Linked DNA regions of Homo sapiens: all the other regions are linked to region 1. Evidence: promoter capture Hi-C in 16 types of primary human blood cells and fetal thymus (Javierre and others, 2016). All regions are on one chromosome and are shown on one strand. The core of a region is centred on a gene start or on the middle of the fragment in contact, and the rest is flanking DNA. Distances in the headings are between cores, read along the strand shown.

The links. Contacts are between HindIII fragments. The CHiCAGO score rates a contact against its expected background, and 5 or more counts as called.
Region 2: a contact is called between the fragment with the promoter of KDF1 here and the fragment with the promoter of HMGN2 in region 1, in 6 of 17 cell types (total CD4 T cells, activated CD4 T cells, naive CD8 T cells and 3 more). The highest score is 6.2, in total CD4 T cells.
Region 3: a contact is called between the fragment with the promoter of NR0B2 here and the fragment with the promoter of HMGN2 in region 1, in 1 of 17 cell types (neutrophils). The highest score is 5.9, in neutrophils.
Region 4: a contact is called between the fragment with the promoter of GPN2 here and the fragment with the promoter of HMGN2 in region 1, in 6 of 17 cell types (neutrophils, naive CD8 T cells, fetal thymus and 3 more). The highest score is 7.1, in neutrophils.
Region 5: a contact is called between a fragment that was not itself captured here and the fragment with the promoter of HMGN2 in region 1, in 1 of 17 cell types (neutrophils). The highest score is 6.4, in neutrophils.
Region 6: a contact is called between a fragment that was not itself captured here and the fragment with the promoter of HMGN2 in region 1, in 3 of 17 cell types (naive B cells, total B cells and neutrophils). The highest score is 6.7, in naive B cells.
Region 7: a fragment that was not itself captured here is called in contact with the fragment with the promoter of HMGN2 in region 1 in 1 of 17 cell types (fetal thymus); the score reaches 5.0 in fetal thymus.

What each region holds. Positions count from the first base shown.
Region 1 is chr1:26,470,662-26,474,525 of GRCh38, forward strand. It overlaps HMGN2 (high mobility group nucleosomal binding domain 2), which reads left to right and starts at 1,779. Exons shown (of 6, transcript NM_005517.4): 1 at 1,779-1,966; 2 at 2,822-2,866; 3 at 3,042-3,071; 4 at 3,424-3,474. The coding sequence starts at 1,952. It overlaps DHDDS (dehydrodolichyl diphosphate synthase subunit), which reads left to right. Exons shown (of 9, transcript NM_205861.3): 9 at 1-645. RefSeq lists enhancers at 386-1,094, 1,095-1,804 and silencers at 1,174-1,589, 1,474-1,743, 2,004-2,293, 2,334-2,503. The HindIII fragment of the contact is 7,205 bases long and covers 1-3,864 here.
Region 2 is chr1:26,958,388-26,962,251 of GRCh38, forward strand. It overlaps KDF1 (keratinocyte differentiation factor 1), which reads right to left and starts at 2,081. Exons shown (of 4, transcript NM_152365.3): 1 at 1,963-2,081. RefSeq lists an enhancer at 1,519-2,201 and a silencer at 3,071-3,365. The HindIII fragment of the contact is 1,819 bases long and covers 522-2,340 here.
Region 3 is chr1:26,912,246-26,916,109 of GRCh38, forward strand. NR0B2 (nuclear receptor subfamily 0 group B member 2) reads right to left here and starts at 1,730. Exons shown (of 2, transcript NM_021969.3): 1 at 1,164-1,730. The coding sequence starts at 1,695. It also overlaps a transcript of NUDC not described here. RefSeq lists an enhancer at 3,197-3,697. The HindIII fragment of the contact is 26,571 bases long and covers 1-3,864 here.
Region 4 is chr1:26,888,439-26,892,302 of GRCh38, forward strand. It overlaps GPN2 (GPN-loop GTPase 2), which reads right to left and starts at 1,845. Exons shown (of 5, transcript NM_018066.4): 1 at 1,248-1,845; 2 at 531-687. The coding sequence starts at 1,658. It overlaps GPATCH3 (G-patch domain containing 3), which reads right to left. Exons shown (of 7, transcript NM_022078.3): 7 at 2,050-2,788. The coding sequence ends at 2,572. RefSeq lists enhancers at 1,006-1,883, 1,239-1,408, 1,919-2,188. The HindIII fragment of the contact is 6,723 bases long and covers 776-3,864 here.
Region 5 is chr1:26,831,810-26,835,673 of GRCh38, forward strand. ZDHHC18 (zDHHC palmitoyltransferase 18) reads left to right here. Exons shown (of 8, transcript NM_032283.3): 2 at 638-798. Among named protein-coding and RNA genes, the nearest start is that of ZDHHC18, 7.1 kb to the left of the region's middle. RefSeq lists an enhancer at 1,920-2,019. The HindIII fragment of the contact is 2,482 bases long and covers 729-3,210 here.
Region 6 is chr1:26,793,496-26,797,359 of GRCh38, forward strand. It overlaps PIGV (phosphatidylinositol glycan anchor biosynthesis class V), which reads left to right. Exons shown (of 4, transcript NM_017837.4): 3 at 618-1,739. Among named protein-coding and RNA genes, the nearest start is that of PIGV, 7.5 kb to the left of the region's middle. The HindIII fragment of the contact is 2,536 bases long and covers 1,049-3,584 here.
Region 7 is chr1:26,777,086-26,780,949 of GRCh38, forward strand. It overlaps ARID1A (AT-rich interaction domain 1A), which reads left to right. Exons shown (of 20, transcript NM_006015.6): 20 at 1,938-3,864. The coding sequence ends at 3,671. Among named protein-coding and RNA genes, the nearest start is that of PIGV, 8.9 kb to the right of the region's middle. The HindIII fragment of the contact is 707 bases long and covers 1,538-2,244 here.

The DNA of each region.
Region 1 (3,864 bases), core at 529-3,028:
GAGAAGCCAATCAGTGAACCCTTTGGCAAAGCCCCCATCCACACCTGGCACTCCCCTCTACCAATCCCTGGCACAGGGTTCCTGGAGAGCAGGTGCTGTACATTTTACAGCTTTACAATGGGGCTGTTGACAGCCATAATTAGGGAGGCATGAATTATGCGGCTATAATGCAGAGCCCTACAATTAAGGCGGGAATGAGGGGCTGGAGGCAGCAAACGGAATCTGCCCTATGAGCGTGGCTGTTGAGTCCTGTCTCCTGGGTCTGACTTTCCGTAATATGATTGGGGTACAGTAGAGGTGATTAATGGGGCTGGCATCTCTCTTTGGCCTGAGGTTCTGTATTCTGGGAAAGGTACACAGGGTGGAGTAGGGAGAAGCTGCCCCAGGAGGCGATGTAGTGGTGGAAAGAAGAGGCAGAGAGGTCGTCGTCGTCGCCCAGCAGCAAGGGCTGCAAAATAGTAGAACTCGTGGTTGCTTTGGACAGGTGTGATTTGTGCAAGCCAGGTTCAACCCTTGCCTCAAGAAATCAGATGGGACCAATTTAGTGTCCTTCCACCTGTGAGCCAAGCCCCCATTTGAGGACATCTATCGTATTCTTGTGTGCTGGGTCTCAAATAGAATTTTTAAAGATTCTTAGATGTAAAACTTGTTTGCTAACTGCAACGGAAGAACACCTTCTTTTGCTGCTGCAATTGCCTACCCTCCCTCAGGTGCACTTGGCTAGCTCCAAGACCCTGGCTTTGGACTAGGGGGCACCGGAAGAGCCCTTTTGCCATCACACCACCTGTTCCTCTACTTGTTTCCTAATCCCCGGGCGCTTTCCTCCACCCTCCTTTCCTCGCGCAAGTGAAAGGCAGCCAGCTTGACAGTGTGGAAGGAGGGATTTCGCCAGCTGCGGCTGCAGTGCCCAGGCTTGGTGGCCGCGTCGGGTTGGGCAGCTGGGCAAAATGTCTCCGAGAGGGGTAGAGTGTAGGGGGAAGTGAGTGCTGGTAGACCTCGACGGCCGCTCTCCACCATACTGTGGCGGGGTCTGGAGGTTTGGGAATACAGGGACCTTAAGGGAGCCACCCGAGAGGAGTTGGGGGTGGGGGCTTCGATAGCATTTGGGGAGGCGGCTGCGCAACGGGTGCTGAAAGGACAGCTCCTACCTGACCCACGGCACCCAAAAGGCACCTCTGCATGGAAAGTCTCCCCCTGAAACCCCTAGCCCACCTCGAGTGGGACCGTCTTTCAGGTGAGGTGCACGAAAGGCTTCTCCGAAGTGGCAGCTCGGAAGGATGCACGTCCGGCTGCGCCAAGCTGGTTTCCCCGCCTTTTTCCCACTTTGGCGTCAGCCTGGGCTCTGGGAACTGCAGCCTGTGCCTCCAGCCGCGCGCTTCCTCCTGCTTCCAGAGGAGCAGGGCAGTGCAGCCAGGCCTCGCAAACCCCTCTTCTGGGGCCCCCAGCGGGAGCAGGAAGGAAAGCCGCTGAGATGCGCCGTGAGTGTCGCACGGCTTGGAGAAGTGGGTTGCTGGGTTGCATAAGGTGGAAGGAACTTGCTAGTTTGCAAAAGACAGCTCTTGGCGGGAGCCGGAACCCGGAGCCCGCCGACTCGCGCACCCCTCCTCATTTACTGCCTTCGACGCGCGCCACCCCGACTGCGCCCCCACCCCCTCGGCGCGCCGCCGTCTCCGCGCACTACCCCCCCCACACACCCCCCTCCTCACTCCCTCCAGAGGAGGTGAGTTTAAACCCCGCCCACGTGACCCCAGCTGGGCCAATGAACGGCGGCGGGAGGTGAAATCCGGTTCTAACCGGTCCGGGGCTCCCAGCGCTATAAAAACTTTATAAACCCCCCGGAGCCCGAGCAGTGTGAAGAAGAGGCGAGAACGACCCCCGGACCGACCAAAGCCCGCGCGCCGCTGCATCCCGCGTCCAGCACCTACGTCCCGCTGCCGTCGCCGCCGCCACCATGCCCAAGAGAAAGGTACGTGGCGCGAGGGCCCCAGGCGCCGGGCCACCACTGCCGCCACCGCCGCCGCCGCCTCCCTGGTGCAGGGAGCGAGAATCGGCGCCGAGCAGGAGCCAGCGCAGCCTCCCCGCGCGGGGGCTGGAGACGGTGTCGGGCAGCTCGGGGCTAACCCTGAGCGGCTCGGCTGCCCGCGGGCGCCAGAGGCCATATTGGAGGAGCGGCGGCCGCGGCGGGAGGAGCCATGTTGGCGGCTGTTTATCCCGCTCTCCTCGGGCTCGCCGCCCCCGCCCCGTGCCCCCTCCCCCATCGCGAGGGCCCCTTCCCTCCCCTCCCTGCGGGCGGGCAATTCAAACCCGAAAGGGCGGGAAGGCGGCGCTCGGGGTTGGCGGGCGGGGGAAAGCGCTGCCGCCAAAAAACCGCCGCCGTGAGGGGCGGGGCTTGTGCGGTATGGCCCCGCCCCCTCGCCCACGTTCCCCGCGCACGAGACGCGCGCTGTCGCCGCCCACGAGTTCCCCGGGCTGCGCGCGCCTCCCTCTCCCGCCCTCGACGGCTGCCATAGCAACGGCGCTGGGCTCCGCCTCCGGAGGGGGTTTGTTTGCGCCATCTGCAGCTGTTGCTCCTGCCTGTCGCGGTGGTGCGGGCTCCGCTGCCCTCCCCGGCTGCGCTCCGGTCCAGCCCTCGCTTCTCGGGGTCGGCGAGCCGGAGCTCCTGCGCGCGCTTCGTTCTTATACGAACGTCGGGCTCACTCATTTATGTCCTAGAAAAGTTGTGTGGACGACTGCTTTAATTTTCATTTTTAGCACTCTAAAGTTTGGGAAGTAATTAAGAACCACCTCAAAATCTGCAGTTTTTTGTTCTTGTTTCTTATAGGCTGAAGGGGATGCTAAGGGAGATAAAGCAAAGGTGAAGGACGAAGTAAGTCATTCTCTCTTCAAGGGTCAAAGCCTTGGACTAGCAGAGGCCACTGGACTCGGTGATTAACCGTAACCTGTGTCCTGAATTTACACTCCTATAATCTAGAGCAAATTGATACCAAACTTTCAAAGCGACTTACCTGTCCTATTTCTAACTTTCTCGTTGTCTTTAATAGCCACAGAGAAGATCCGCGAGGTTGTCTGCTGTAAGTGTATGCTTTTGAATTTTCGTGCTTGTCCCTGAAACTAAAAAACATCAAAAAACAATTCCCTTTGCTTCCATGAATTATGGTTAGTGCCTGGTTTTGAATCATTGCCTCTACTTGGGACTCTTGCCCCTTTGGGTTTTGCTGGTTCTGAAATTCTGATGCCTGTAGCCAAAGTGGGACATTTGAGTGGGCTTCTGGAAATCCAACATTCTAGAAGAAAGCCAACCACAAAAACTTTTGAGGAGGAGGAGAAACTTCTCTACCCTTGGTACTTTTGGTTGGTTGTGGGTGGTTTTCTTCAGTCCATTGTACTGATGTTCACTTTTTCCTCTCTTCCTGCCAAAAAAAGAAACCTGCTCCTCCAAAGCCAGAGCCCAAGCCTAAAAAGGCCCCTGCAAAGGTAAGTGCTAACATTGGAACTGATCATTTTCACAGAATGAGGACTGTCCTTAGTGCCTTAACTTAATTAGCATAATGGTGCCTCCATTAATGGAGGTTATAAACTGTGTGGATAGCTTACCTCGTCCGTGTCATTCATAACGTTGGTTTCCTGATCAAGAATTCTGTTGTTAGTTTATAGGAAAATCTGCATTTAAATATTAAATACCCCAGGGTTTAAACTAATTTATTCTTCTGTTACTTAGGAAATTCTAAGTACTAAAGATTATAGCAAATTACAGATAATTTAGCCTAGTTTTGATCAGTTGTTCTTGTCAAATGGGTGAGGGTTTGTGTTTTATCTTGAGTAAACAATCCTACCTTGTGCAGAACTTTGCAGACCATACCTTGG
Region 2 (3,864 bases), core at 831-3,330, 490 kb after region 1:
CTCTCAAAGTACTGGGATTACAGGCGTGAGCCACCGCGCCCGGCCTAGCTGTTCTAAATTCTATGGATAAAGTGATAAAACAGACAAAATCCCTCAACCTCAGGAGTTTACAATCCAGTGAGAGTTGATTATTGATGGCTTACACTGTTCTAAGTACTTCAGACATAATAACCAATTAATTTTCACAACCCTCTTTGTAATATTATTACCTGTATTATTATACTAAAGCACAGACAGGTTAAATAAGTTGTCCAAAGCCATACATCTATCTGTACACAATTGGCCTGGCCCCAGACTCTTATCCACTACCCCATCCCATCTATTACTTGGGAGAAAAGAGGCAGTCAAAGCTGCCAGCTCCATGGACCAGCGTGTGCCCAGAGAGAGCCCATGTTGGGAGCCCTGTCTTCCAGGCTCAAGCCTTCAGGAGAGTGGACAGATCTACAGTTAACCATGCTGAGCTCGGAAGTACGTGGGGCTCCTGAGGATGGACTGGCTATTGTCTTCTCCCCAACCTCCAAAGCTTTAGGACTCTCTATTATTGATTAAATTAATACAACGAGGTGCCCAGCGTTGTGCTAAATGCTGAGAAAACAGCAGTGAATGGGCCAGAGGACTTTCACCTTATTTGACTCTCACAATTGCTCTGAAAATAAGTAGTATATCTCCATTTCACAGATCAGGAATCTGAAGCTCAGAAAGGTGAAGTGACTGGCCCAGAGACACCTAGCAAGAGAGGGCTGGAGTAAGATTTGCACTGTGGCCCGCCAGGCTCTGAAGCCTGCGTACTTTGTGTGTGCCACACATCTCCAGCGGTGGTGGGATGAGAAGAGAAGACCTGGGATAAGGACAATGCCTGCCTCAGTTCCCCACTTCCCTCCAGCCATTGAACCCTCCTGAAGTCAAACTCAGGCAGTTTCTTCCAGGCTGTATCTCCCCGACCCTGCTGCCACCGCCCCGCCACCACCCCGCCCAATCCTAGGAACCTGGTCACTTGGTTTAGTGAGGGGAGACTCCCTGTCCCTATTGTGGCTTGAGGCAAGATTCTTAACCTCACTTTCCTCATCTTTAAATAAGGAGAGACTAGTATCTTCATGCCCCGCCAATCCCGTGAGATTTAAATGAAATATTGAGTGCAGGGGGCTTCCCGCAGTGGCCTTGCCCATGGGAGGGGCTAGGTCACTAGGCGATCTAAGGCACCGCAAGGATGTTCCCGGGGGTCAGAGGGTCCCGGCCCGCCCTCCCTGGATTTCTCGTTGATGCTTTCCTCTTCCCCCTTAGTCCCGCGAACACACACACACACTCAAGGGTCTATGTACCGTCCCCTCCTCCGAGGGTCCCCAGGACAGGCCCGGCCGCACCAGCCTCTGCCCCCAGCCCAGTGCCAAGCCTCGGACACCCGGCCGGGGAGGACCACCCCAGTCCTGCTCGAGAAACAGCCGTCGGCTCAGTGCACCCTCGGCCTCCTGCCCCAAAGGTGCAGCCCGAGAGTCCCATATCCGCGGGCAGCTAGTCCTGGGGACAAGGAAGAACCAGATCCTGGCACTGTCCCCCGGGCTACCACAGCCCCTACACCAACTCTGCCCTCGGGGCGAGCACTACCCTCTCCAGCTGCAAGGGCCCTACCCCGCGGGCGGACCCAGCCTCCCTCCCGTCCCGACGCTGTTCCTCGGGGTGAGCACCAGCGTTTGTCCCATCCCGACGCTGCCCCCCGGTGAGTGCGGCCCCCGCACCCAGCCAGTGCAGCCCTAAGGGCGAACGCGGCCCCTCACCCCATTCTGCGCGCCCAGCCCGGGCGCCCGCTCAGGCCGCTCCCCAGCCCGGCCCGCGCACCCCGGAAGTAGGAGGGTGGCCCCCGAGGAACCGGGCCCGGGACCCTCTCCTGTCCGGGCTCAGCTTCGGGGGGCTCCCGACACCGGCGCCGCCCTGGCTTGCGCCCCCCTGGGCCCGCGCCGGGCTTACCTGTCCCGCCAGGTGAGCCGCCTCCGGCTCAGCCCCTCCCCCGCCCCCTCGCCGCTCACCTGGGGCGCAGGTGAGCGTCTCGCGGGAGCGCTGCACGGGCCGCCGCTAGGGACACACTTCCTGCCTCCGCGAAGCGCTACCGCGCACCTGGACCGAGGCCCCGCCCCGGGGCTCTGCAGAGCTGCGCGTCCCCGCTCGAGTGCTCGGCCCGTTCAGCCTAGTCCGGGTAGGTGAGGTGTGGCGGGGAGGGGTCGAGAGGCGCTGGGGCTCAGTCTCCTCTTCTGTTCAACAGGCTGGTGGTCCTGTCAGTCTCTGAGCACCTGTGGAACTTCTGCCCGGCCGTAAAGCTCCAACTCAAAGGGAAGCTCTCTTCTGGGAAGCTTTCCCTGATCCTGTCTGTTTTTCTGTTGGTTAGAACAGTCCCTGTACTCAGCACACTGTCGTTTTGTTGTCTTCTGTCTCCTCCTTTAGCCTCCTACCTTGCAGGGTTTGGTCTTGTTCCCCTGTGTTCCTGGTGCTCAGCACAGGTCCTGGCACATACTAGGTGTTCAACAAATATTTTCCACTGAATGAGGCCCTGGGCCCCAATTTCTCCCTTTGCCCTGAGGCAGAACTGGGAGCCTGGGCCGCTGATCAGTTTACCTTTTCTTTTGTTCAGAGAAATCTGCAGGTAAAGACAGGAACCTCAGCTCTGAGGCCCCGAGTAGGGTAGAGGAGGGGGACCGGATATGCAGCTCTGAAAGATACATCCAGGATCAGAAGTGGTGGCCAAAATGGGCCATGGTCACTACATCCAAAAAAGGTCTCTGCAAGAGGCAACACCATTGAATGTCAATAAGGCAAGGCTCAGACTATTCTGGGTTACTGTTCCCCTTAATATTAATAACAACTCAATAACTTAACAATAGCATTAATAAACAAGTGACTTGGCCGGGCGCAGTGGCTCATGCCTGTAATCCCAGCACTTTGGGAGGCCGAGGCGGGAGGATCGCGAGGTGGGAGTTTGAGACCAGCCTGGCCAACATAGTGAAACCCAGTCTCTACTAAAAATACAAAAAATTAGCCTAGCATGGTAGCAAGTGCCTGTAATCCCAGCTACTCGGGAGGCTGAGGCAGGAGAATGGCTTGAACCCAGCAGGCAGAGGTTGCAGTGAGCCGAGATCGCGCCATTGCACTCCAGCCTGGGCGACAGAGCGAGACTCTGTCTCAAATAAACAAAACAAACAAACAAACAAGTGACTTTTAGGGAGCATCTCCAGGAGCCATGCATGCCGAAGCCGTTAATCTGTGAAGTGGGTCAGGTATTATCATATCCATTTTACAGTAAGAGGAAACTGAAGCTTAGAGAGGGGACATTGTTTGCTCAGGCAGTTGGCACAAACTGACTTTTGGCAAGGCACTTTCCTTCTCTAAACCTAATCTCTGGAGATAGTAGTACCTCTCTTTAACTGGGAGGATTAAAAGAGATCATGGATGCAACAGGAAGATATCACTGGGATGCATTAGGCATAGGTGTTCAATTTCCACCAGAGACCCTCCATCCCAGCGCCTCCCACCACATCTTGTCCACATTCCCTCCTGAGGAAAGTGCACATTGTATTCTTATTTGGAGCTCAGAGAATGAGTCACATCCTCACTTCACAGTCACATCTTGTGCAGTTGAACATCTGTGTACTCTAAAACCTAGCAAGTCCATTCCTATGGTACAGCCACAGTAAGCTCTTGTGCAATGCACCAGGAGAGAATGTATACAAGAATGTTACTAGAAACATTGTTTGTGGTAGCCCCAAACCGAAAACACGGAAATGCTACTGACAGGAGATAGAGAAATGTGGGATATTCATGCAAAGGAATTAATTATAGAGCAGTAGAAAATGAATGAAAAATAGCAACATGGTTGGA
Region 3 (3,864 bases), core at 480-2,979, 440 kb after region 1:
ATTTATCAATTTTCAATGTATTCATCCATCCATTTATGAAGAGGCAGTGTGGAGTAATGGTTAAGAATTAGGCTTCCTGGGTATGAATCCCAGCACTGTCACTTATTAGCTGGGTGACCTTGGGCAAGTCACTTAATCTCTGGGCTTCAGTTTCTTTATCTGTAAAACGGGAATAATAATATTAATAGGACCTGTCTCCTAGGCTTTTATGAGATTTAAATGAACTAGTATATGTAAAACCCTTAGAATAGGGCCTAACATATGGTAAGTGTGATATGAGTATTTGCTACTATTATTACAATTAATTACTACGATTTATGCGTGCCACAAGGGACTCCTGGGGAACTCTCATCTCAGATGCTCTCCAGATTACAAACAGCACTGTCTCCATCTGCCGCTCTCCTGGCCGAATTCCATAAAGACTCCTTTCCTGTCCTCCCTACGCCCCTTTCAGTCATCTCTTCTATGTGATCTTTCTGAACCCACAGAGGAGTTTTAGCTCTAGAGCTTCACCATGCAGCCTTCCTTTGAGGATGTGACTGAGACACAGCTGTGTCTGCCCACCCCACCTCCCCACAGCCTTCTGTAAAGGTCAGAGCAAATTTCTCAGGCAGAGTGGCAAGGGCCAGTCTCTGGAGTGAATAGACCTGAGTTGCCATCCTGGTCTGTCCCTACCTGGCTGTGTTACCTTTAGCTAGTCACTTAGCTTCTCTGTGCCTCTTCTGTGAGATGGCTATTTGATGAAAATGAGGACTGGCCAAGCACGGTGGCTCACGCCTGTAATCCCAGCACTTTGGGAGGCCAAGGTGGGTGGATCACCTGAGGGGTTAGGAGTTCAAGACCAGCTTGATCAACATGGTGAAAGCCCATCTCTACTAAAAAGTACAAAAATTAGCCGGGAGTGGTGGCGGCCATCTGTAATCCCAGCTACTCGGGAGGCTGAGGCAGAGAAAATTGCTTGAACCCAGGAGGCAGAGGTTGCAGTGAGCCAAGATCGCACCACTGCACTCCAGACTGGGTGACAGAGTGAGACTCTGTCTCAGAAAAATAAAAAGAAAATGAGGACCCAATGAGATAACAGATATCAAACCCTTAGAAGCTACCTTCCCTGGCTGGCCCCTGCTTCAGCCTTGCCCCCCACCCAGGAGTGTCTGGGAGCTCACCGGGGTTGAAGAGGATGGTCCCTTTCAGGCAGGCATATTCCTTGGGGCTAAGCTCCAGGCTCCAGAAGGACTCCAGACAGCATTGAAGCCACTGCACCGCAGCCAGGGAGGGCTGGGGTCTGTCTGGCAGTTGGCCACTGCCTCCACTGCTGCTGGGCTCCTCCAGCAGAATCTTCTTGAGTATGCTGGGCACCGGGGCCTCAGCCACCTCAAAGGTCACAGCATCTTGGGCCAACCCAAGCAGGAAGAGGGGGCCCCAGCAACCCTGCAGCAGCCGCCGCTGGTCCTGGGGAGGCAGCTGCCAGAAGGATGGCAGGTTCCTGAGGAAGGCCACTGTCTTGGCCAGAACATCCAAGGCCTCCCGGCAGGTGCGATGAGGTGCACATAGCTGGACGGGCCGGTGCTGCCTACATAGGCAGCGGCTACGGGGTCGGGGGACAGCCTTGAGGCTGGAGCTCAGAAGTGCGTAGAGAATGGCGGGGCGGCTTGCAGCTCCCTGGCATGGGCAGGCCCCTGGTTGGCTGGTGCTCATGGTTAGGGATCTGCTCTCACTTCCAGCTCTCTGGCTCTGTGTTCTGCGCTGTGGGTGCTATTTATATTCCCAGTGAGTGGAACGGGGGGAATGGCCCAACAACCTTGACTCCAGAAGTCATGTTCATTGAAAAAAACACACAGACATTGCCCCTGGCAGGAATGGTGGGGAAGTGGTGGGGGAGGGGGCATTGGGAACCCCACGTGGCACTGATATCACCTCAGTCAATGAAGTGGCCGGTGCAGGGCACAGGGCCACCTGCCGCTCACTCAGCTGCCCCTTATCAGATGACTCAAGTGGATAAACAAGGTCATTAACTCAGGCTGTACCAGGGCACCAAGGCCCCAGGTGCACAATCAGCAGGTGTCCCCATTGGTGCCCGCTCTTGTGTGCACAAAAGACTAGGGCTTTTGCTAAGCCAGGAAGCCAGCCCCAGAGCTGGGTGGGCCTTGAATGCAAGGCCCAACCTGGAAGTGCCTTATCACTAGCTTGTTTGCCTAACCTTGGGGCCCTGCTTCTGTTGTCAGCCAGAAGCAGGCTACAGGGAAGGGAGCCAGGACCCTGGGGGCTGGGAGGACTTTGCCCACTGTCCAATCTAGGAGGCCTCCTCCTCTGATTCCAGTTCTGGGCCCCCTGCAGGAATAAGGTCCTTCAGAATCCTTATCCCCAGCCTGATTCCTACCACTCCTGAAAGGCCAGGTCTGCTGAGAAGAACTCACAGAATTATAATAAAAGATAGTTGCCAGCCGGGCACGGTGGCTCATGCCTGTAATCCCAGCACTTTGGGAGGCTGAGGAAGGGGGATCATTTGAGGTCAGGAGTTCAAGACCAGCCTGGCCAACATGGCAAAATCCCGTCTCTACTAAAAATACAAAAATTAGCCGGGCATGGTGGCATGTGCCTGTAGTCCCAGCTACTCTAGAGGCTAAGGCAAAAGAATCACTCGAAACTGGGAGGCAGAGGTTACAGTGAGCTGAGATCATGCCACTGCTCTCCAGCCTGGGCAACAGAGCAAGATCCTGTCTCAAAAAAATATATATGTATATGTATATGTATATGTATATGTATATGTATATTTATATGTATATGTGTATATATATATACACATACATACATACATATATATATATATATATGTATATATATGGTTGCCATTCTCTAAGCACTTATTATGTGTCAGGCACTTCCCACTCTAATATTGGCAGCCTCTTCCTAAGGCTAGATTCTTACTTTATGAGACTAAAAAAGCTAAAGTGACTTGCCCAAGGTCATCCCACCAGGAAGACAAAGCCCAGATCTTGCCTGACTCCAAAGTCCTTGTTTGTTTCCCTGGACCCACTGGCCCAATTGCACAGCCAGAGCCTGAGATTCTCAGAGCTTGTGGCTAGCTGCCCCCACCTTGCTGCTGCCTGCTTTGCAGACGTTGCCCACTTGTGATCTGGGCAGAAGTGTTGCTCTGCTGCCACGTGGCTCCTCTGTCCCGGGCATCTTTCTCAGATGGTGGAGCACAGGGGATGAGAGAAGGTGGAGAGGCCCTTGGTTGTGTCATGTTCCTGGACCTTGGCCAGTCCAGTGTGGCAAGCCTTCTGCTGCATGCTGTTGGGCAGCCTGGTGCCCTGGATGGGGAGAGAGAGGCTCTGGCATCACTAGCCCTGGCATCTGCTCCAGAATCCATCACTTTTTGGTTATGTGACTTGGGTTGATCCTTGAACCTCGATAAGCCTCCCTGGGACAATAATGCCTGGCTGTAGGGCTGCCATGGGGACAAAATGAGGTCCTGGTTGTTAAATTCCAAGTGGTTTCTGGCATACGGTAGGAGGATTTTTCTGCCCCTTTCCTCTGTGGAGCTGAGCACCAGTGGACAAACAGGCACACCTCTTTCATTTGATTATTAGTCTTAATCCTTAAATTTATAAAGTTCCTTTCATGTTTTTAAATCTCACTGAATTCTCACAGTGTCCCCTTGAAGCAGACTCTGGAGTCAGACTGGCTGGGTTCAAATCCTGCTTCACTTAGCTGAGTGACCTTGGGCAAATCACTTTCTCTTTCTGTGCCTCAGTTTCCTCATTTTTAAAACAGTGACAAGAATTTCTGGAGGTGGATATTGGTTTTATGGGGCCTGAAGGTTACGATTTGGAGGACCCTCTTTAAGAATAGAATACACACTCG
Region 4 (3,864 bases), core at 595-3,094, 420 kb after region 1:
GGCTAAGCCATCTGGTCTATGGTATTTTTGTGATGGCAGCACAAACTGACTAAGACAAGGCCTTTATTCCTACTAGTGCCTCTGCATAGAACAGTCCTCCCTTGGCTGGCTCCTTCTCACCATTCATGTCTCAGCTCAGATGCCACTGCTTCAGAGCAGAAGTGAGAAACTGAGGTCCAGAGAGATGAACTGACTTACCCAGACCACACGATGATTCAGTGGCAGATCCAGAATTTAAACTCATGCCTGTTTTACTCCAAAGCTCACTCACTTCACTCCCAAATATTCACTGTCGTATCACTTTAATTCCTTTGTAACACCTAACACCATCTGTAGCTCTCTTGTCTCCAAAATCTACAACGGTAACTAGCACAGAGTGGCACAAAATAAATGGGCAGGAGTTAGAACCTGCCTGTGGCTACTATCACCAGACCACGCAAGGCACCAGAGGCAGCTACCTTCAGCTGAGATGTCTGCTTCATTCTAGCCCAGCTGCTGCCCTGCTCTTCGCCTGGAACAGAAGCTCTTACCCAGCTTCCCATAATGCTCAATGAGGTCCATCTTGGAAAGGAGGTTGATGTGGGGCAGTTCCACGTGCAGCATGGTGGCCAGGGAGGTACACAGTACTGAAATGAACTTGGCAGGGTCTGTGCAGTAGTGAGAATCCACGAGGTGGACGGCAGTCAGCTGGGAGGGAATAGACAGGGTGAGAGTGGCCTGGAGAAACAGGGATCAGCATTCCCTCATGAGAATGAGGGCTTGAGGACAGAGGGGAAGCTTTCCCCATTAGTCTCCTGCCTCTGTTTCTTTCTAATAACCACCCTGGTTTCCTTCTCCCAGGAAATAGGAGTCATTTTTTTTTTCTTACAAGAGGTCTTGCACTGAGCCTCCCAGTGGGCAAGGGGTTTAAATCCCATGGCATCTGACTCCACTCTTTCATTTACTTTTGCCCACCAATTTACAACAATCTCCATGCCACTTTCGACATTAACCCCTTCCATACTTCCAAAATCGCCAAGTTGGCTACTAACACATTTTACACGTGAGGAAACTGAGGTTCAGAGTGATGAACTGACTTATCAACACCACACAGCCAGTCAGTAGCAGAGCCAGATTCTGAACTCATGCCTGTTTTACTCCAAAGCGACCCAGCCCCTACCTCCCTGTGTGACATGGGGGCGTGGCGTCTGTCCTCCCTGTCTCAGTTACTCCATCCGCAAAATGGGCCTCCCCGCCCTGAGACGCACCCTGAGGTCCCACTGCGCCATTTGGGAGAAGATGCTGCGCAAGGCGCCGTGATGCGTGCAGAGCTCCACCTGGCCTGGGCAGTCGAAGAGGAAGTAGTGGCCGCGGAGGGGGTCGAGCTTGGCACGCAGCCAGTCCAGGTTGGCTTCCAGGTACTCCATGCAGTAGAGCAGGCCGCCGTTGGGCCCCAGGCGCAGCGCGTCCATCACGTCGCCCAGCCCCACCAGCTCGCCCACGTCCACGGCACACTCGTACGGCAGCCCCTCGTTGGCCGGGTCCAGGTTCACCACCGCCACGCGCCGGCCCAGCGCGCGCAGGAACTCACTCATGCCCAGGCAGTACGTGGTCTTCCCTGAGCCCGGCGGGCCGATCACCGCCTGCCCGAAGGCCGTGGTCGGAGCGGCCCCTGCCATTGGCGGCCCGCGGCCCGGAGCAGGTCAACTCACAGGGAAAACGGGGCAGGTAGCCGCGCCGGAGACGAGACTGAGGGCGAGGGTCCCAGTACGTATACCTCGTTGGCGGCCAGCGTCACTCGCCTCAGGCGGAACAGCTGAGACCGTGTCGCGCAAAAGGAGATAACAGGCCGATACTAACTAGACTAACTCGACTTCCGGACAGCGTCGGAAACGGCGAGCCAACGAGAGGAAGTCCCGCCCTCACGGCGGGGACGAAGCTAGACGCCGAGGGGCGGGCGGCGCAGCCGCATTTCTCTCGCGGGTAGTGGGTCGAATGTGGGGTCTTTGCGGGAAAATCGCTCTCGGAATTTCTCTAACCTTCAGACTCGAATTAGAAAAGTAAGGGAGCTCCAGTAGTAAACGTCTTTATTCTTCCGTGACGTCGCACACCCAAGCCACCTCCCGCGGACTCTCCGCTGGCAGTCCCACCCAGTGAGGGTAGAGGCGGTGGAGGGCCCACCCAAGGCCGGCTCTTCCAAGCACCACAAATCCTCTCCTCGCCCAGGTCCCTTTCCCCCTTTCTGGCCTTCGTGGGGACACCTTCAGAGTCCCCAAGGAAGGCTGTGCTGATAGCCTCACTCAACCCAGCTTTTCAAAGTTCTGCAGGAGGCAAAGGGCAAGCCCAGAGATTAGGGTTAGAGACCAAAGACAAGCGGTCGTTACCCCTAATATCCAAGGGGAGGGGACGGGAGGGGGCTTTTTGTAAAAATGCCCCTGAGGTATAGAACCGGCAGGCAGGCAGGCTCGGAACAAAACACCCTGAACCAGCCACGAAGACTGCTGCTCCCAGACTCCTTTCTGCTTCAGTGGTAGATGAGGCCAGGGCAGAGGGTTTTCATCATGTAGCTATGAAAGGAAGCCCCCAACCCGGTCAGTCAGGCAATGAGGGGCTGTCTGAAGCACAACTGGAACCCCTCACAAAGGCCATGTCTGTCCGAAACTTCATGCTGGTGGGTGGCTGGCGGCGGAGCAGTGACTCCGTCTGGTCTTGGGGTAGAGGCTCATCATAGATGGTGGAGATGAGCCCCAAGCCATTTCTACGGGGCCTCTTCAGTTGCCCAAATGGCTGTAGCTTCTCTCCATGGTACCTGGATAAAAACGGGCTCTCAGTGAGAAGGCTGCTCTCAAACTCCAGTTAAAGGGGTTGGGAGAGGACGGGGAAGTAGTTACTACATATCTGGTTTGTCCAAAGACAGAGGCTTTAAATCTGGGTCTTTGTTCTCCAGCCCTCTTATCTATCCATTGACAGTGCCAGCAAGAAGGGGCCTCATATAAAATTTTCATTCTGTCACTACAGACTTCCTAATAGTAACCATCAAGTCCAAACTCCTCCAACAAAGGGTATGAATGATCTTGTTAAGCCTTAGGGCTTACTCTTTAAAAAAAAAAAAAAAGTCAGATTTACTTTATTTATTTATTTATTTCTGAGATGGGGTCTCACTATGTCACCCAGGCTGGATTGTAATGGCGTGATCTCGGCTCACTGCAACCTCCACCTCCTGGGTTCAAGCGATTCTCCTGCCTCAGCCTCCAGAGTAGCTGGGACTACAGGCGCATGCCACCATGCCCAGCTAATTTTTTTTTTTTGTGACAGAGTCTTGCTCTGTCACCCAGGCTAGAGTGCAGTGGCGCCATCTTGGCTCACTGCAACCTCTGCCTCCTGGGTTCAAGCGATTTTCCTGCCTCAGCCTCCTGAGTAGCTGGGATTACAGGCACCCACTACCGTGCCCAGCTAATTTTTTGTATTTTTAGTAGACACAGGGTTTCACCATCTTGATCAGGCTGGTCTGAAACTCCTGACCTCGTGATCCACCCGCCTCAGCCTCCCAAAGTGCTAGGATTACAGGCATGAGCCACTGCGCCCGGCTAATTTTTGTATTTTTAGTAGAGACGGGGATTTCACCATGTTGGCCAGGCTGGTCTCTAACTCCTGACCTCAAATGATCTGCCCACCTGGGCCTCCCAAAGTGTTGGGATTACAGGCGTGAGCTACCACGCCCGGACTTTTTATTTTTCTAACAGAGACAGTCTCATATGTTGCCCGGCTGGTTTCAAACTGGGCTCAAGGAATCCTACCACTTCAGCCTCCCAAAGCGCTAGGATTACAGGCTTGAGCCACCGTGCCTGGCCCAGATCCACTTTTTCCTCTTAACTGTTTTGAATT
Region 5 (3,864 bases), core at 720-3,219, 360 kb after region 1:
CAGCCCTCTACTCATTCTTCAGGTTGGAGCTTAGGATTGTCTCCTTCAGGTTGCCTTTCCTGACTGTGCTACTGCGTTCCCCTCCCCCACTAGAGCACACATCACCCTGTGTGGCAATTCCCTGTTTACATGTCTTGTTTTCCCCACTAGACCATAAGCCACAAGGGGGAGGGACTCTTGTCTTATCCGTCGTCATTATTCCTGCTGCTTATTGAAGGTGTTGCCTGCCACAGAGAAGACCTCAGTAAATATTTGTGGACTGAGTGAGTGAATGAATGAGTGAATGAACACTGCAGGATGGTTTGTCTCAGGTGACAGTCCACTAGTGTCTGCCTGAAGCTCTGTGTGTAGAGGGATTCTCTGGATGCAGAGGTTAGGAGTGCTGGGATCTATTGGACACATCTGCCATGTGCTCTGGAGGAAAGTATATCACAAGGATCAATTAGTGATGTCTGTTCCCGGTACTTATTGGGGAGTGGCTGCACTCATCAAGGAGCTGTGCCTCTGCCTCAGAGCGAGGCTGTATTCAAGATTTTGGTGGTGGTTGTTGGAATGACAGCGCCTGCCACGTGCTGTAGCCCTGTGCCGCAGGGAGCCCTTGGGGTGTCTGCTGATCTCTCTCCATCTCTCGTTCTAGCTGTCCCTACCTGGCTCGCAAGCTGACCCTTGCCATCCCCATCATCGCTGCCATCCTCTTCTTCTTCGTCATGAGCTGCCTGCTGCAGACAAGCTTCACCGACCCTGGGATCCTGCCCCGGGCCACTGTCTGTGAAGCAGCCGCCCTGGAGAAACAGATCGGTGAGGTTTCTACTCCCAGCTGAAGCTGGGTCTCCATAGCTCCACATTCCCTGACTTGGGAGGAGGCCTGGTTTTCTCTTCCAAAACTATACTAGGAACTGGGGATGCAGTCGTGAGCAAGGCAGGCTGGAGCTGACACTGGCACAGAGGGAGACAGATGATCAACAAGTGAGCAAATAAGTAAGCAAGAAATGCTGGCCAGCCAGCAAAGGCCCCGATGGCAGCCAGCGTGGAGCTGAGTAGTTCCTGGGGGCTAGGCACTGTTTTAAGCTCTTTATATGCATGATCTTATTTAATCCCCCAGTAATCCTATGAGGTAGGTACTGTTGTCATTCTCCTTTTACTGATTAATTAAATCAAGGCAAAAGAGGGTCCAAGATCACAAAGTAAGTAGAAGAGCTGAGATGAGACCTCAGTCTAGAGCACCTGCTCTTAAACATTCATATACACTTATTCATTCACTCATCAAACATTTATTGACCCCCTACTATGTGCCAGGCACTTTTCTAGATGTGATACAGCAGTGAACAAAACTGACAATAGTCCCTGTCCTCATGGAGCTTGACAGTTGAGGAGGAGGAAAGAGACAATAAATAACAAATAATTAAATATCTAGGATATCAGACAGAGAAGAAAGGAGGGAAGGAGGATGAAGGCTACAGGGAGGGTGTGTGATTTTACATAGGGTGGCCAGGGAACATCTTGTGAAGGAGGTGACATCTGAGCAAAGAAGCACCGGCCTGAACAGATGAGGGCTTGACGGTGGGGTTATCTAGGGAAGAGCCCAGTAGGTGTTGGGGAGTGGGCTAGTTTAGGTCAGGTGGTCAGGGGAGACCTCTAGGAGGAGGCGGCACTGGAGATGAGTGTGGTAGAAATACGGGGATCTGGGAAAAGTAAGGCCAAAGCCCAGAGTGGCAAACAGCCTGGGCGTGTGTGAGGAACGGCAGTGGCTGGAAAGACCCTGTGCTCCCAGGCAGCCCAGGTGGCCCTTGATTCCTTTCAGACTGCTGTGTGGGTTCCGGGGTGGCGGGGTACTGGGCCAGGTCCCTAATCTCAGCTTGCTGCACCCCAGCTCTTCCTGCTGAGAAGTGACGTGGCTACTTGCACACCTCGGGGGTTTCCGGTCCGTGGTTAGCTCCTTCCCCTAACAGCATGGTGTTCACACAGGCTTTTAAACACCCAGCTGGCCCTGAAGACATCTAGTGGCCTGTAAATGTCAGAGCCCTGCTGCATCCATCGCTAGAAATCATTTCACTAATACTCTGTGCAGCAGGGAGGGAGGGAGGGCGAGCAGCTGGAGAGGATGTTCTCTGGGCTCTGTCTGCTCTTTGTCTCATTCCTCTGCCCAGCCCCATCCTCAGCCACGCCTGCGAGGGCCACCTCCTCTCACCTACATCCAGCGTCCTACCCCTTCAAACTCTGGGTCCCTGGCCACTCCTTCAGGATCCCACGGTCTGACCTGGGCTGGCCCACCTGGCAGCTGGGGAGGCCCAGCTGTGCCCCGTTCTTCCTCCCCTTCTGGTCAGGGCTAATCATGAGGCAGGATTATTGTCCAGCTCAGCCGGACCCAGAGGTCTGGCTGCCTGGAATCCTCGGCCTCCTGTGAGCTGCGTGGATCACAGTGACAGCAGTAATCCCCTTCTTGGAAAGAGCTTGGCCGTGTGCTGAGTGCTTTCCATCTATTATCCCCACAAATCTTCACAACAGCCCAGTGAGGGCGACCCTGTTAACCAATTGTACTGATGGAGAAACGGAGGCAGGTGATCACAGGGCCAGGATAAAGAAGCAGAGACAGAGTGTGTGCCTTTCACTCCCAAACCCCTTGCTTTCTCTTCTGAGATGGCAGCAGGGACACATCTCCTTCATCCTCTTCTCCACTTGTTTCCTGTGCTCTGGGAAGCCTTCTTGACCCCAGTTGGGCCAGGCCTTCCATTGCACATTCCCAGAGCACCTTCTCCTTCCTTCTCTGAACCTGTGCTGCAACGGTGGTCATTACAAAATCATCCTTTCTGCTGGCCTGTGAGGGCATGGAATTCCAGCATCTTGTTCACCTTGTCGCCATGTAGAAGGCTCAGTGACGTTGGCTAAATGAGTAAATGAATGACTGAAGAATAGGTGAGCTTCTGTGAAGGCCCTCCTTGCTCTGTCAGGGTGACAGGTGAGGAAACAGTCAGGACATCTCCCAGTTGGGCATCATGGGTTTGTTCATTTGTGTGTTAATTCTATATGCTGACCCCTGACAGCAGAGTGAAGGCAGGTGGGGGCCAACAATGAATCTGATAGGAGCTTACTCTCATGGGTTCCAGACAAGTTGGCCCCAGGTGGGAGCCCTGACCAGCCACTGCCAGTGAGATCAGGCTTTAGAAGAGGGTCAGAGGAGTCAGGAGCATCTTCTGCCTGGGGGACTGGAGAAGCTTCCTGGAGAAGTGATGCTTGAGCTAAGTCTTTAAGTTTGGGTGGAATTCAAGCACAGGAGCTGTGCGGAGGCAGCCCTTCAGGCAGACAAAGCTGAGGGAAGAGAGAGTGGCAGAGGGAAGGAGGAGGGATGGGAACGGGCCACTGAGCAGGCCACGTTGGCTAGAATATGAGGAGCACTTCAGATAGTTAGGGATATTAGAGATATTCCAGTTGGAAGGATGGGGTGGAATCAATCTTGTAGGGCGCTGAATGTCCCTAAGACTTTTCTTGGCGAACAGGTGCAAAGTGCAAAAGTGGCATTTTGGAGGCCTTTGAATTCTCAAACTTGAATAGAAGCCAAATTTTTGGGTGTGACCAGGAGACTTCTAACTAATTAAAGTAAAACATATTTCCCAGGGCTGGCACAGTGGCTCACGCCTGTAATCCCAGCACTTTGGGAGGCCGAGGCGGGCGGATCACAAGGTCAGGAGATTGAGACCATCCTGGCCAACATGGTGAAACCCTGTCTCTAGTAAAAATACAAAAATTAGCTGGGCATGGTGGCGTGTGCCTGTAATCCCAGCTACTCAGGAGGCTGAGGCAGAATAATCGCTTGAACCAGGGAGTCGGAGGTTGCAGTGAGCCAAGGTTGCGCCATTGCACTCCAGC
Region 6 (3,864 bases), core at 1,067-3,566, 320 kb after region 1:
GGGTTCCCTGCCACCTCACTGACTGTTCCTTTTTTTCTTTATTGCTGGATTTTCATCCTCTTTCTAGCCTTCAGATGTTAACATGTCCAGGGTTCAGTCCTCAAGAAGAGTTCTAAGTGTTTTTGAAACAGGGTCTCATGCTGTCACCCAGGCTGGAATACAGTGGCACAATCATGTCTCACTGCAGCCTCAACCTCCTGGGCTCAAGCAATCCTCCCATCTCAGCCCCCCCAAGTAGCTGGGACTACAGGCATGTGCCACCACACCCAGCTAATTTTTATTTTTTTATTTCTAGTAGAGACAAGGTCTTGCTACGTTGCCCAGGCTGGTCTTAAACTCCTCGGCTCAAGTGATCCTTCCACCTCAGCCTCCCAAAGTGCCGGGATAACAGGCGTGAGCCACTGTGCTCAGACTTTTTTTTTTAGTTTTTATAGAGACAAGGTCTTGCTATGTTGCCCAGGCTGGTCATGGACTCCTGGGTTCAAGTAATCCTCCCATCTCAGCCTGCCAAAGTGGGGATTACAGGCATGAGCCTGGCCTTCTTCCTCATTTTATTAAATGGCAATTCTTTTCTTCCAGTTACTCAACCAAAATTCTGGTTTTTCTTTACTCCACAGGCCCTCTTCAATGCCATCATCCCAGATCACCATGCAGAAGCCTTCTCTCCTCCTCGCCTGGCCCCCTCAGGCTTTGTGGACCAACTCGTGGAAGGTCTTCTGGGCGGCCTGTCTCACTGGGATGCTGAACACTTCTTGTTCATTGCTGAGCATGGCTACCTGTATGAGCACAACTTTGCCTTCTTTCCTGGTTTCCCCTTGGCCCTGCTGGTGGGGACTGAACTGTTGAGACCCTTACGGGGGTTACTGAGTCTACGCAGTTGCCTGCTGATTTCGGTAGCATCACTCAATTTCTTGTTCTTCATGTTGGCTGCAGTTGCACTTCATGACCTGGGTTGTCTGGTTTTGCACTGTCCCCACCAGTCCTTTTATGCAGCTCTGCTTTTCTGTCTCAGCCCTGCCAATGTCTTCCTGGCAGCTGGTTACTCAGAAGCTTTGTTTGCCCTCCTGACATTCAGTGCCATGGGGCAGCTGGAGAGGGGCCGAGTCTGGACTAGTGTACTCCTCTTTGCCTTTGCCACTGGGGTACGCTCCAACGGGCTGGTCAGTGTTGGCTTCCTCATGCATTCTCAATGCCAAGGCTTTTTCTCTTCTCTAACGATGCTGAATCCTCTGAGACAGCTCTTTAAGCTGATGGCCTCTCTGTTTCTGTCGGTGTTCACACTTGGCCTTCCCTTTGCCCTCTTTCAGTATTATGCCTACACCCAATTCTGTCTGCCAGGCTCAGCCCGCCCCATTCCTGAGCCTTTGGTACAGTTAGCTGTAGACAAGGGCTACCGGATTGCAGAGGGAAATGAACCGCCTTGGTGCTTCTGGGATGTTCCACTAATATACAGCTATATCCAGGATGTCTACTGGAATGTTGGCTTTTTGAAATACTATGAGCTCAAGCAGGTGCCCAATTTTCTACTGGCTGCACCAGTGGCTATACTGGTTGCCTGGGCAACTTGGACATACGTGACCACTCACCCTTGGCTCTGCCTTACACTTGGGCTGCAAAGGAGCAAGAACAATAAGACCCTAGAGAAGCCCGATCTTGGATTCCTCAGTCCTCAGGTGTTTGTGTACGTGGTCCACGCTGCAGTGCTGCTGCTGTTTGGAGGTCTGTGCATGCATGTTCAGGTGAGGTGGATTCCTGACTGGGATAAGGATGTGAATACAGGCAAAACCCCTTGGCCAAGGACAGGGAAGGCAGCTAACATCTCCCGTTTGAGTGATCCATACTGAATTTATTCATTCAATGACTATTTAGGGTTATTCTTTATGCCAGACTCTGGGTCAGACCTCTAAGGATGAAACATAAATAAGACAAAATTGCGGCCAGGCGCGGTGGCTCACACCCATAATCCCAGCAATTTGGGAGGCTGAGGTGGGTGGATCACAAGGTCAGGGGTTCAAGACCAGCGTGGCCAAGATGTTGAAACCTTGTCTCTACTGAAAATACAAAAATTAGCCGGGCGTGGTGGCAGGCACCTGTAATCCCAGCTACTCAGAAGGCTGAGGCAGAAAATTGCTTGAACCCGGGAGGTGGAGGTTGCAGTGAGCTGACATTGCACCACTGCACTCCAGCCTGGGCGACAGAGTGAGACTCTATCTCAAAAAAAAAAAAAAAAAAAAAAAAAATTACTGCCTTGGGGGGTCTCATGGTATAAATAGGAGGACAGACATTTGACATAAATTATAGTACAGTGGGATAGAAAAGGGAGTGCTATTTTGAGATTTATTTTATTTTACTTTATTTATTTATTTATTTATTTATTTTTTTAGATGGAGTCTCGCTCTGTTGCCCAGGCTGGAGTGCAGTGGTGCGATCTCAGCTCACTGCAACCTGTGTCTCCTGGGTTCAAGCGACTCTTCTGCCTCAATCTCCCGAGTAGCTGGAATTCCAGGCGCCTGCCACCACCGCCTAGCTAATTTTTGTATTTTTAGTAGAGATGGGGTTTCACCACGTTGGCCAGGCTGGTCTCGAAATCCTGACCTCAAGTGATCTGCCCGCCTCATCCTCCTAAAGTGCTGGGATTACAGGCGTGAGCTACCACGCTCGGCCTGAGATTTTTTTTTTTTTTTTTTTTTTGAGACGGAGTCTTGCTCTGTCACCCAGGCTGGAATGCAGTGGCATGATCTCAGCTCACTGCAAGCTCCACCTCCCAGGTTCACGCCATTCTCCTGCCTCAGCCTCCCGAGTAGCTGGGACTACAGGCACCTGCCACCATGCCTGGCTAATTTTTTGTATTTTTAGTAGAGACGGGATTTCACCGTGTGAGCCAGGATGGTCTGGATCTCCTGACCTCGTGATCCACCCGCCTTGGCCTCCCAAAGTGTTGGGATTATAGGCACGAGCCACTGCGCCCAGCAAGATTTTTTTTTTTAAAGCTCAGATAAAGTATTATGGAGGCGAAGAAGTAGGTAACTCACTGGAGTACTTGAGAAAGGCATCATATTTCAGCTGGGTCCTGAAGAATGAGATTTTCCATATAAGAAGCAGAGGAGGAACATTCTAGGTAAAAGGAAGGGCATATGCAAAAACACGAGGGTTGTGAAAGGACCTGATTGGACTGAGATACAGGAATAAGCACGGAGGATATCTCTGGGATCTTTTTCCCTAATACACAGTTATAGTTATATCCATATTGGTTTCTTGACTGTTGACTTCAGGAGGTTCTCAACTCAGGCAGGCCCCCAATTTCCAGAGGAGATAACCTTAACCAATGTTTTGGGTGGTGGCGGTGGTGATAGAGAGGGATGGGAAAGGTTTGATCTTATATCTGATTTTCTGTTCTTGGCTGTGGCCCCACCCTGGGGACATCTTTTTTCCCCATGCCGACCTCTTAGCAGTTTCTTCCTGTTGGAGTTGCACATTGGCTGTTTCTAAAATTCTCCAAGCTGTATGGATAAGAGACACAGAGGAAATAGAAAGTAGCATTCCGTGTTTTTAGCTAGATTAAATCGTAGAATGTGTGCCAGCAAAGCTTAAAGTTTCCAGGTTAGCTGAGGGAGGCCATTTGGAAACTTGTGTCTGAACTCCAATAGGAGAGAGAATGTTCAAGCAATGGGTCTTCTGCCCATTTCCCTCTGCTTTGCCATCCCATGGGATAAGGGAACCACCTCAGGTTCCCAATCCCCAAATCAATATCACAGAGTTTAGAGTCCAGGCCCTCGGCTAAAATTAGACCCCATAGAGTTTCTAGTATTAATTGGCCCATTATTTTAATAGTAATTAATGTAATTAGTCTGTAGCTATGTTTAT
Region 7 (3,864 bases), core at 641-3,140, 310 kb after region 1:
TTTTTAAGAGACTCTGGCACCTAGGCTGGAGTGTAGTAGTGCCCTCATGGCTCACTGCAGCCTCAAACTCCTGGGCTCAAGCGATCCTCTTGCCTCAGTCTCCTGAGTAGCTGGGACTACAGGCAAATGCCACCATGTCCAGCTATTTATTTATTTTGAGACAGGGTCTCCATTACTCAAGCTAGAGTGCAGTGGTGCAATCACAGCTCACTGCAGTCTCAACTTCCGAGGCTCAGGTGATCCTCCCACCTCAGCTTCCCAAGTGGCTGGGACTACAGGTGCGTGCAAACATGCTCATGCTCAGCTAATTTTTTTTTTTTTTTTTTTTGAGAGATGAGGCTTCACCATGTTGCCCAGGCTGATTTCAAACTCCTGGGCTCAAGTGATTGACCTACCTCAGCCTCTCAAAGTACTAGGATTACAGGTGTGAGCCACCGTTCCAGGCCCCGGATAACTTCTTTATTTTTTTATAGAGGCAGGGTCTCACTGTGTTGCCCAGGCTGGTCTCAAACTCCTAGGCTCAAGTGATTCTCCCACTTCAACCTTCCAAAGTGTTGGGATTACTGGCTGGGTGCAGTGGCTCACGCCTGTAATCCCAGCACTTCAGGAGGCCGAGGCAGGAGGATCATTTGAGGTCAGGAGTTTGAGGCCAGCTGGCCAACATGGTGAAACTCCATCTCTACTAAAACTATAAAAATTAGGCTGGGCGCAGTGGCTCACGCCAGTAATCCTAGCACTTTGGGAGGCCAAGGTGGGTGGATCACTTGAGGTTAGGAGTTCAAGACCATCCTGGCCAATATGGTGAAACTCCATCTCCACCAAAAATATAAAAATTAGCCGGGCCTGGTGGCACACACCTCTAATCCCAGCTACTTGGGAGGCAGAGGCAGAAGAATCACTTTGAACCCAGGAGGCAGAGGTTGCAGTGAGCTGAGATCGTGCCACTGCACTCCAGCCTGGGCAACAGAGCGGGACTCTGTCTCAAAAAAAAAAAAAAAAAAATACACACACACACACTCTCACACACTAGCCCGATGTGGTGGCAGGCGCCTGTAATCCCAGCTACTTGGGAGGCTAAGGCAGGAGAAAAATCGCTTGAACCCAGGAGGCGGAGGCTGCAGCCAACTGAGATCACACCACTGTACTCCAGCCTGGATGACAGAGTGAGACTTCATCTCAAAAAAAAAAAAAAGTGTTGGGATTACAGGTGTGAGCCACTGCTTCCAGCCCCTAGATCTAATTCGAAAGCCCTTATTTTTTTTTCCATCTGCTCTACTGTTCAGCCAAAGATTGTGACTGGAGAGGAGTGTTTTCTTCTAGAGGTAAATAAATGGCCTATATATTATCCAAGGTGGAATTTGGGTCTCTGTAGCACCAGCTTGGACCAGTGTTTGGAGAGCTGAAGCCTCGTCCCACTCCTTATGCTGCAAGATCCATGGAGTTCCAGCCCCCTGGACTTGTGGGGAGCTTGGAGAAGAGAGCCATGAACATCTGCCCACATGGCATTCTCTTCTCTTAGCTTAAGTCACCATGCCTAAGCTTGGGTTCCACTTGGCAGTGAGATGGAGAGAGTGTCCTAAAAGAGATAATGGCAATGACCACCAGGTTGAAAACTGGCCTGGTGAAGAAAAGCAGAAGATTAATTGGGAAAAGAGAAGGCTAAGAGATGATTGGCCCTGGTGGGTGAGGTGCAAAGCTGTTGGCTAGTGTTCCTGGAGATAGGCTTACGTGAAGGTAGGTTGGGCAGAAGAAAGAACTTTGTGTTGGGCATAGAAGAGATTAAGATGAACAATTTGCTCTGTGGAGAACCTTTGGGAAAGGAGCAACTCTGCCTCTCCCAACTGATACAGAAGACTTGGGGAGGTCTCTCAAGTCAATAATTCTGTTCTTAGGCCACTTTTCTCCCTTAATTTATTTCCTGTTCTTTCTCTTTTTAGCTCCCAGGGTTGCTAGAGCTCCTTGTAGAATATTTCCGACGATGCCTGATTGAGATCTTTGGCATTTTAAAGGAGTATGAGGTGGGTGACCCAGGACAGAGAACGCTACTGGATCCTGGGAGGTTCAGCAAGGTGTCTAGTCCAGCTCCCATGGAGGGTGGGGAAGAAGAAGAAGAACTTCTAGGTCCTAAACTAGAAGAGGAAGAAGAAGAGGAAGTAGTTGAAAATGATGAGGAGATAGCCTTTTCAGGCAAGGACAAGCCAGCTTCAGAGAATAGTGAGGAGAAGCTGATCAGTAAGTTTGACAAGCTTCCAGTAAAGATCGTACAGAAGAATGATCCATTTGTGGTGGACTGCTCAGATAAGCTTGGGCGTGTGCAGGAGTTTGACAGTGGCCTGCTGCACTGGCGGATTGGTGGGGGGGACACCACTGAGCATATCCAGACCCACTTCGAGAGCAAGACAGAGCTGCTGCCTTCCCGGCCTCACGCACCCTGCCCACCAGCCCCTCGGAAGCATGTGACAACAGCAGAGGGTACACCAGGGACAACAGACCAGGAGGGGCCCCCACCTGATGGACCTCCAGAAAAACGGATCACAGCCACTATGGATGACATGTTGTCTACTCGGTCTAGCACCTTGACCGAGGATGGAGCTAAGAGTTCAGAGGCCATCAAGGAGAGCAGCAAGTTTCCATTTGGCATTAGCCCAGCACAGAGCCACCGGAACATCAAGATCCTAGAGGACGAACCCCACAGTAAGGATGAGACCCCACTGTGTACCCTTCTGGACTGGCAGGATTCTCTTGCCAAGCGCTGCGTCTGTGTGTCCAATACCATTCGAAGCCTGTCATTTGTGCCAGGCAATGACTTTGAGATGTCCAAACACCCAGGGCTGCTGCTCATCCTGGGCAAGCTGATCCTGCTGCACCACAAGCACCCAGAACGGAAGCAGGCACCACTAACTTATGAAAAGGAGGAGGAACAGGACCAAGGGGTGAGCTGCAACAAAGTGGAGTGGTGGTGGGACTGCTTGGAGATGCTCCGGGAAAACACCTTGGTTACACTCGCCAACATCTCGGGGCAGTTGGACCTATCTCCATACCCCGAGAGCATTTGCCTGCCTGTCCTGGACGGACTCCTACACTGGGCAGTTTGCCCTTCAGCTGAAGCCCAGGACCCCTTTTCCACCCTGGGCCCCAATGCCGTCCTTTCCCCGCAGAGACTGGTCTTGGAAACCCTCAGCAAACTCAGCATCCAGGACAACAATGTGGACCTGATTCTGGCCACACCCCCCTTCAGCCGCCTGGAGAAGTTGTATAGCACTATGGTGCGCTTCCTCAGTGACCGAAAGAACCCGGTGTGCCGGGAGATGGCTGTGGTACTGCTGGCCAACCTGGCTCAGGGGGACAGCCTGGCAGCTCGTGCCATTGCAGTGCAGAAGGGCAGTATCGGCAACCTCCTGGGCTTCCTAGAGGACAGCCTTGCCGCCACACAGTTCCAGCAGAGCCAGGCCAGCCTCCTCCACATGCAGAACCCACCCTTTGAGCCAACTAGTGTGGACATGATGCGGCGGGCTGCCCGCGCGCTGCTTGCCTTGGCCAAGGTGGACGAGAACCACTCAGAGTTTACTCTGTACGAATCACGGCTGTTGGACATCTCGGTATCACCGTTGATGAACTCATTGGTTTCACAAGTCATTTGTGATGTACTGTTTTTGATTGGCCAGTCATGACAGCCGTGGGACACCTCCCCCCCCCGTGTGTGTGTGCGTGTGTGGAGAACTTAGAAACTGACTGTTGCCCTTTATTTATGCAAAACCACCTCAGAATCCAGTTTACCCTGTGCTGTCCAGCTTCTCCCTTGGGAAAAAGTCTCTCCTGTTTCTCTCTCCTCCTTCCACCTCCCCTCCCTCCATCACCTCACGC